Regions from separate parts of the Homo sapiens genome. Here region 1 is linked to region 2. The links are contacts of gene promoters, found by promoter capture Hi-C in blood cells and fetal thymus (Javierre and others, 2016). All regions are on one chromosome and are shown on one strand. Each heading gives the region's core, a stretch centred on a gene start or on the middle of the fragment in contact. The rest is flanking DNA. Distances are from core to core; before and after follow the strand shown.

Region 1 (3,751 bases), core at 770-3,269, 720 kb before region 2:
ATCAGAGGCCTCTGTAGACTAGTACTGGCAAACAGCCCCCTTCCTCTGGTTCACGAAGTTCTTGATTTCCAGGATCTGTGCAGATTTTTCCCCCCTAGGATGCATGACGATGCCCTCAAAGGAAAGGAGTAAAGCCAGCAAACATTTTGCCTGCTTTCTATGTTTCTAGCTGTCTTCCAACCAGTCCCTAAAATAGGAACGCTCCGAGGGTGCCATGTGATGGAATGTATTGGCAGGGCGGCCTGCCTCTCAGCCTCATGAAGGTTTGCTTTCTGGTTGTGTGTGATGTTGAAGCCGCGGCTGAGGAGTTCTAAACCCACTGGCACTGACTGCCCCCCCACTTCTTGGACCGGTTAGCAAAGAATGGAGCCTGGGGCCAGAACTGAGGGGTACTCCCCCTGCACTGGCACAGCACAATCGACATGCTCCGGGACGCTCCAAATAAGCTTTCAGCCGCCTGGGGTCTATCGCTGCCGCTGTACCAGTGGGGTTCGTGTGGCTTCCACCGAGGAAGCAGAACAGCGGAGTTGGGTCTCAGGTGAAGATTTTTGTTGCCCCAATCACAGTGTGTTAAGTGGTCAGGGTTGCTATTCCTCCCTGGCATTTTTCTAATTGGGGGCCCTCCTCCAGAACTGGCTTCAGAGTCGTCCCTGGGGTCAGGGAAGAGTGCCCCCGCTTCGGGAGAGAGGAGCAGGTGGAATACGGAACGACCTTAGGCGAGTCCTTGGCCGTCACGGCCTCAGTTTCCTTATGTGTGAAGTGAGAGGATTTAAGGGCAGCCGGCCTCAAAGAGCTAACTCTCCGATTGCACCCGAGCTCCCCTAAACACTCGAGCCCGGAAGACGCGGGCGGGCGGGCGGGCGACGGGGGGTCCCTCCCTCTGGGGAGCGCGGTTCCAGCCGGCCGCAGCGGACCCCGCCCCCGCGCCCCGCCCACCGCCGGTCGCCAGGCGCGGGGAGGGCCGGGCTTCCGCCCTCCACGTTGTTGTTCCCGATTTGGGCCACGCCCCCCGGTCTGGGCTGCGGGCGCTTCGTGTTCCCCGCCCTGGCCCCGGCCCCAGAGGAAAGGGTGGCCCATGGGGTGGCACAGTCCGTATCTCCACCCACATCGAATACGCGTGGACAAAGACTGGAGTTCAGGGGAAGGAAAGATAAAGGCCTGGTTTTAAATGGAAGGTGGTGAAAAGGAATGGAGAGGCCAGGGCACGACTGCGGGATTCCCCTTACGGCATCCCACCCTGGGTTCGCCCAGTGGCCCCATCCGCACCCGCGAATGTGACCTGCAGACACTGGCCCTTTAAACCGAAGGCTGGCGGCGCGGGGTGTCCATGTGGAGCTGCTCCATGCCGTGTTGTCCTGCCCGCCCATTGGCTCGCGGCCCGGTGACGTCCCCTAATAGGATGCGAACGCACTGCGGGGGGAGGAACGGAGACAAAACGCGGAGCCGGACTGCCGCTCCGCTCCCTCCGCTGGTTCTCTTGACAGTCTCCAGTCGCCGGCAGCTCCGCCCAGGGGCGGATCCCGGGGGAATTGCGACAGCCCGGCGATTGCGGGATTTAGGTCGCGAGTGGGTGGAGCGTGGAGACCCAGGGTCAGGCCAGTCTCTGCCATTCCCAAGGTTTCCCTGACCCGGAATATCCTGGTTGGAACTCTGTTAAATCTTGAATTGTTCACCCTACCCTCCCTCCAGCAGGACAGATTTCGTCGTGAACGACCCAAACGCACCGCCCCGGCCCAACTTGTGGCTTGCAGCCGGGGCGGGGCCAGCAGGAAAGCGGAACCGCGGCGCGCACACCCCGCTCGGACCTCTCCCTCCCTGCCCGGGCCACGTGTGCGCGCGCCGGATCCGGGGGGCGGGGCCAGCAGCGCAGGACCCGCCCCTCCCTTCGCGAGACGCCGCGGCCCTGCGGGCGGGGGCTCCGGTCCGGGCTTTGGCTGTGGCCCCGGTGTAGTAGCGGGGGCGGCGGCCGGGGGCAGCGCGGCTCCTTCCCTTGTTGTGTGTGTCGGTGCCTCCTCGCCATCTTGTTGCAAAGCCCTTTCTTGTCGGCGGGACTCCCGGGGGCCGCGGGGCGGGAGGCATCGGAAGGGAGGTAGAGAGGGAGGGGAAGAAGGGAGGCAGTGCCGCCTTTTTTTTTTTTTTGCATCCCATTTTTTTAAATTTGCAATTTTATATTTTGCAAATATTTTGAGAGACATTGATTTTTCTCCCCGTGCTCCCCCGTTCTTCCCTGCGGAGTGCGCTGCGCCGCCCAGCCCTGTCGCCCCCCGGAGGTGATCCCTCCCTCCTGCCTGCCCGCCAGCCTGACCTGTGCCCGGCTCGCGGGCCGCAGCCTCGGCCCCGGCGCGCCCCCGGCAGCTCTCGGCGCGATGAGCATAGAGACGCTACTGGAGGCGGCCCGCTTCCTGGAATGGCAAGCGCAGCAACAACAGAGAGCACGTGGTGAGCGGCCGGGCTGGGCCCCTGGGGCACTGGGGAAGGGGAAGCGAGTGACCCCGGTCCCCGAACCCACGCGAAACCGCGGACAGGGCCCCCTCCCGGGCGGCCTGCGGAGCCTGGCAGCGCACGGCTCCCCGCGAGAGCCGCCGCCTGGGGAGGGGTGATGTGGGCAGTGAAATTAATTAATGAATTCATTAACATGCTGCGAGGGACCTGGCTCCTGCGGGCGCCACCCCGGCTGCGTGGCACCCCTGTGCCCCTTCTGTGGTGGGCTGCTTTTGCGTGGGCCAGCGGAGCCCTCGGTGGCACTGAGGATGTGTGAGCCGGGGGGTGGGGTGAGGAATGGTGTTGCGTGGGGGTGGCAGGCTCGCGTGTGCGTGCGTGTGTGCACGGGGGATGTGTGATGTGAGCCTCGGGAAGAGCAGATGAACGGACGTGTACACGGGCGTGTGTATAGCACACGAGTGGGCGTGTGTGTAACGGAGTGGGGGTGGGGACTACTCTACGCGGAGCAGCTCTTCGGCTTCCCTGGCCCCGTGGGGAGGGTGCGGGGGGCGCTCCCGGCAGATCTACGCGCCGCTTGGGGCGGAGGCGGCCTTTGCAGAATGAAATGACATCGCGTGTCTTATGATCCTGGCCAGCCCCGCCTGACCCCGCCTCCCAGAGCTGGGCTGGGCTGCGCGTCCGGGGTTTGGGTGAAAGCCGGGCTAATTGGGCGTTTGCGAAATGGCCCGCGGGTCGCTGGGGGTCAGCCCCCGGGCCCCCCTCGCTGCGCCCCGCTTTAGCCAGTGTGGAATGTGGCGTGTCTGCGCGTTCCAAACCCGCTCTCGCCTGGAATGTTGCGTGTGCCTGCGTTCCGAGCCCGTTGGTTACACCGGGTGGTGACGTGGACGGGCTCCGCCCCCGACCACGTGCACCGGGGACACTCCTGCTGGGGACGGCGCGGCCCGGCCCCTCCTCACCGCCTCGCGCTCGGCCGGGGGCGGGGCCTGGGCGGGGCTGGCAAGGGGCCTTGCGCTGGGTTGGGCCTGGGCCCGGGCCCCGGCCTCTGGGCACCTCCCAGGGAGAGCCTTTGCCCTGCGAGGGAGGAGCCGAGCTCACCTGTCGGCTCTGGCCCCTAACCTCCTGTGTTTGATCCCGAGGCAAGGGAAACCCTCAGAATCGCAGGGCGACGAGACATTTAGAGCTCACATTTTTCCACTGACCCCCAAAACGTTCCAACTATGCCCCCTGGCATCAGCCGGGGCCACGCTGGAATGAGCCAGGATGAGAAAGGGCAAACTTCGGCGCTCCCTCGAAAGGGAAGAGACTAATG
Region 2 (3,574 bases), core at 144-2,643:
GTGGATGTGTAGGAGAAAAGACTCCAACTAGGTGGGCATGTAGCCTTTTTTTTAAATTCTTTTTTTTTTTTTCCCATAAAAATGGTAGACAACCCAAGGCTTGCAGCCTTTAGCAGAGTGTCTGGAAGAAGAGATGGCCAAACTCTGGTGGGCTTATTTTTCCAGGTATCGGGAGCATTGTCCTGCCGGGCAGCCTGTGAAAGTGAGGGTCTCCTACCAGAAGCTGCTTAAGTACTATGTGCTGAATGCCCTGAAGCATCGGCCCCCTAAGGCTCAAAAGAAGAGGTAAGGTGCCCCAGGGGCCCTGCGCAGACTTCTGTTCCAGAGATATCAGTAGGCTGACTCTTACTCTCCATGTTCCCACCTCAGGTATTTGTTCCGCTCCTTCAAAGCCACCAAATTCTTTCAGTCCACAAAGCTGGACTGGGTGGAGGTTGGGCTCCAGGTTTGCCGCCAGGGCTACAACATGCTCAACCTTCTCATTCACCGCAAAAACCTCAACTACCTGCACCTGGACTACAACTTCAACCTCAAGCCTGTGAAAACGCTCACCACCAAGGTGCCTGCATTGGACCCTAGGGGCCTCCTGGGCTTCAAGGACGGACAGTTGTTTTCCTCTGGTTACTGATGAAGGCATACATCAGTTGGGTCCATTGCTCATTCACGTTCTGTCTGTTTTTTGCATCTTCTCCAGGAAAGAAAGAAATCTCGTTTTGGGAATGCTTTCCACCTGTGTCGGGAAGTTCTGCGTTTGACTAAGCTGGTGGTGGATAGTCACGTGCAGTATCGGCTGGGCAATGTGGATGCCTTCCAGGTAAGGTTAGGTATTCCCAACCCCTGCCTGGGTGAGGACGCTGGAGGAAGCCTGTGCTGACCGTGGAGCTGGTTTAAGCTCCAGGTCTGATGGGGCAATTGTATTGCAGCTGGCAGATGGATTGCAGTATATATTTGCCCATGTTGGGCAGTTGACGGGCATGTATCGATACAAATACAAGCTGATGCGACAGATTCGCATGTGCAAGGACCTGAAGCATCTCATCTATTATCGTTTCAACACGGTGAGACCTTGACTTTACTGACTTTCTTTTTTTTGAGACAGAGTCTTACTCTTGTCTCTTGGGCTGGTGTGCAATGGCACGATCTTGGCTCACTGCAACCTCCGCCTCCTGAGTTCAAGCAATTCTCCTGCCTCAGCCTCCCGAGTAGCTGGGATTACAGGTGCCCGCCACCACGCCTGGCAATTTTTTTTTTGTTTTGTTTTGAAACTGAGTCTTTCTCTGTTGCCCCAGCTGGAGTACAATGGCACGATCTTGGCTCACCACAGCCTCCGCCTCCCGGGTTGAAGTGATTCTCCTGCTTCAGCCTCCCAAGTAGCTGGGACTACAGGCGCGCACCACCATGCCTGGCTAGTTTTTGAAATTTTAGTAGAGATGGGGTTTCACTGTATTGGCCAGGCTGGTCTTGAACTCCTGACCTCAGGTGATCCACACTCCTCGGCCTCCCAAAGTACTGGGATTACCAGCGTGAGTCACCGTGCCCAGCCTCACTGGACTTAACTTTCTCAGATCTTTTTTCATGTATACATTTAGACAGGGCTCTTTCCAGGGACCTATTTGGAGAGCAGCTATGACTGTGTCCTTACTGCTCCTTTAAATTCACATGGGCGATCTTAGTTCCTGGTTTTTGCCTTAAGGTTTCTCATTTACCCTTTTGTTTTAGATGTTGAGGTCCCAGAGTTTTTTTTTCTTTTTACCCCTCTACTGCCATACCTACATTCCTCTGTATGTATATTATACATATATGCCCCACCTCTGCCCAGGTTTCTATTGTTGTTTAAATGCATTGCTAACTTGTATTCTTAACTTCTGCTTGGGATCGTAGGGCCCTGTAGGGAAGGGTCCTGGCTGTGGCTTCTGGGCTGCCGGTTGGCGAGTCTGGCTCTTTTTCATGCGTGGCATTACCCCTTTATTAGAGCGATGGCTTGGCAACCTCCTGGCCCGGCAGTTTGAAGGTGAGTGGTTTTCTCTGTGTCCAACTTCTCCTGTTATTGCTTCAAAAGTACCTGCCCCTGTTTGAGTCTGTTCCCTGCTCTTGTATGAGCACTCTTCCTACTGGATTGCCTTTAGGTCCAGTTCTGAAATGAGTCTGACCTAGTATTCTATTTCTTGGGCTTCCTTCTGGGGCCTTGAGAGGCAGTCATGCATTTGCAGGAGTGGAAATTCCTCAGAAGCATAGTTGTGAATGTTTAAGGTAGCTCGTCTTTTTGCATATGCTGGGCACAGGGACGCTTTGTTAATACCTAATTTTATTAATAACCATAATGAGTGAGGAGCATGAAGGTAGAGACCCTTATTGAAAGCAAGGAATCTTCCTTGTAATCCCCTTGGGACACTCTACTTCCAGGTCGACACTCAAAGGGGGTGGCAAAGACAGTAACAAAGCAGCGAGTGGAGTCACATTTTGACCTTGAGCTGCGGGCAGCTGTGATGCATGATATTCTGGACATGATGCCTGAGGGGATCAAGCAGAACAAGGCCCGGACAATCCTGCAGCACCTCAGTGAAGCCTGGCGCTGCTGGAAAGCCAACATTCCCTGGAAGGTGGGTGTCTCTTTATTTCCTTGGAGGCGTAAACATCCGTCTTTAGGGTAGGATTACCACTTCGGGAATCATTAGGGGGCTATCTGGCTCCAATCTCTTTTCTTTTCCCTTTTAGACAGGGAAAAGAAGCACCATGTTGCTTAGGCTGGCCTCAAGCTCCTGAGCTCAAGCGATCCTCCTTAGCCTCCTGAGTAGCCGGGACTACAGATGTGTGCCACAGTGCCTGGCTGGATCCTGGCTTGATTGTGCTTTTTGGACTTTTAGGTCCCTGGGCTGCCGACGCCCATAGAGAATATGATCCTTCGATACGTGAAGGCCAAGGCTGACTGGTGGACCAACACTGCCCACTACAACCGAGAACGGATCCGCCGAGGGGCCACTGTGGACAAGACTGTTTGTAAAAAGAATCTGGGCCGCCTCACCCGGCTCTATCTGAAGGCAGAACAGGAGCGGCAGCACAACTACCTGAAGGTTGGGCAGAGTAGGCTGGGCTGGGTGTGAGTGGTGGGGGAGTGGGCAAGAGGGAGGACTGTAGAGTTGTGACTGAACCTTGTTCTGGCAGGATCGGGCTGTAGCGGGAGGCTAATTTCATGTCCACCTTACAGGACGGGCCTTACATCACAGCGGAGGAAGCAGTGGCAGTATATACCACCACAGTGCATTGGTTGGAAAGCCGCAGGTTTTCACCCATCCCATTCCCCCCACTCTCCTATAAGCATGACACCAAGTTGCTCATCTTGGCATTGGAGCGGCTCAAGGAAGCTTATAGGTGAGTAGTAGGGTAGATAGGTTCCTGCTGGGAAGGTGACAGCAGGGAATGGCGTCATCCTCAGAGTCCAAAGAAAGAAGGTGTAGCCCCAGTCTTTCCTGGTTTTACTTCCTCCTAGTTTTCCCATTCACCCTTCCCATTGCTTTTGTCAGTGTGAAGTCTCGGTTGAACCAGTCTCAGAGGGAGGAGCTAGGTCTGATCGAGC

The links. The method cuts DNA at HindIII sites, captures the fragments that hold promoters and counts their contacts. A CHiCAGO score of 5 or more calls a contact.
Region 1: the fragment with the promoter of MNT here is called in contact with a fragment that was not itself captured in region 2 in 1 of 17 cell types (naive CD4 T cells); the score reaches 5.4 in naive CD4 T cells.

What each region holds. Positions count from the first base shown.
Region 1 is chr17:2,399,328-2,403,078 of GRCh38, reverse strand. It overlaps MNT (MAX network transcriptional repressor), which reads left to right and starts at 2,019. Exons shown (of 6, transcript NM_020310.3): 1 at 2,019-2,439. The coding sequence starts at 2,367. RefSeq lists enhancers at 1-481, 482-1,052, 1,424-1,473, 2,764-3,334, 3,335-3,751 and silencers at 774-1,093, 1,744-2,053, 2,244-2,323, 2,474-2,533, 3,054-3,543. The HindIII fragment of the contact is 11,182 bases long and covers 449-3,751 here.
Region 2 is chr17:1,676,002-1,679,575 of GRCh38, reverse strand. It overlaps PRPF8 (pre-mRNA processing factor 8), which reads left to right. Exons shown (of 43, transcript NM_006445.4): 10 at 166-285; 11 at 370-559; 12 at 695-814; 13 at 924-1,058; 14 at 1,882-2,011; 15 at 2,404-2,600; 16 at 2,865-3,071; 17 at 3,206-3,369; 18 at 3,522-3,574. Among named protein-coding and RNA genes, the nearest start is that of PRPF8, 7.1 kb to the left of the region's middle. The HindIII fragment of the contact is 3,942 bases long and covers 1-3,364 here.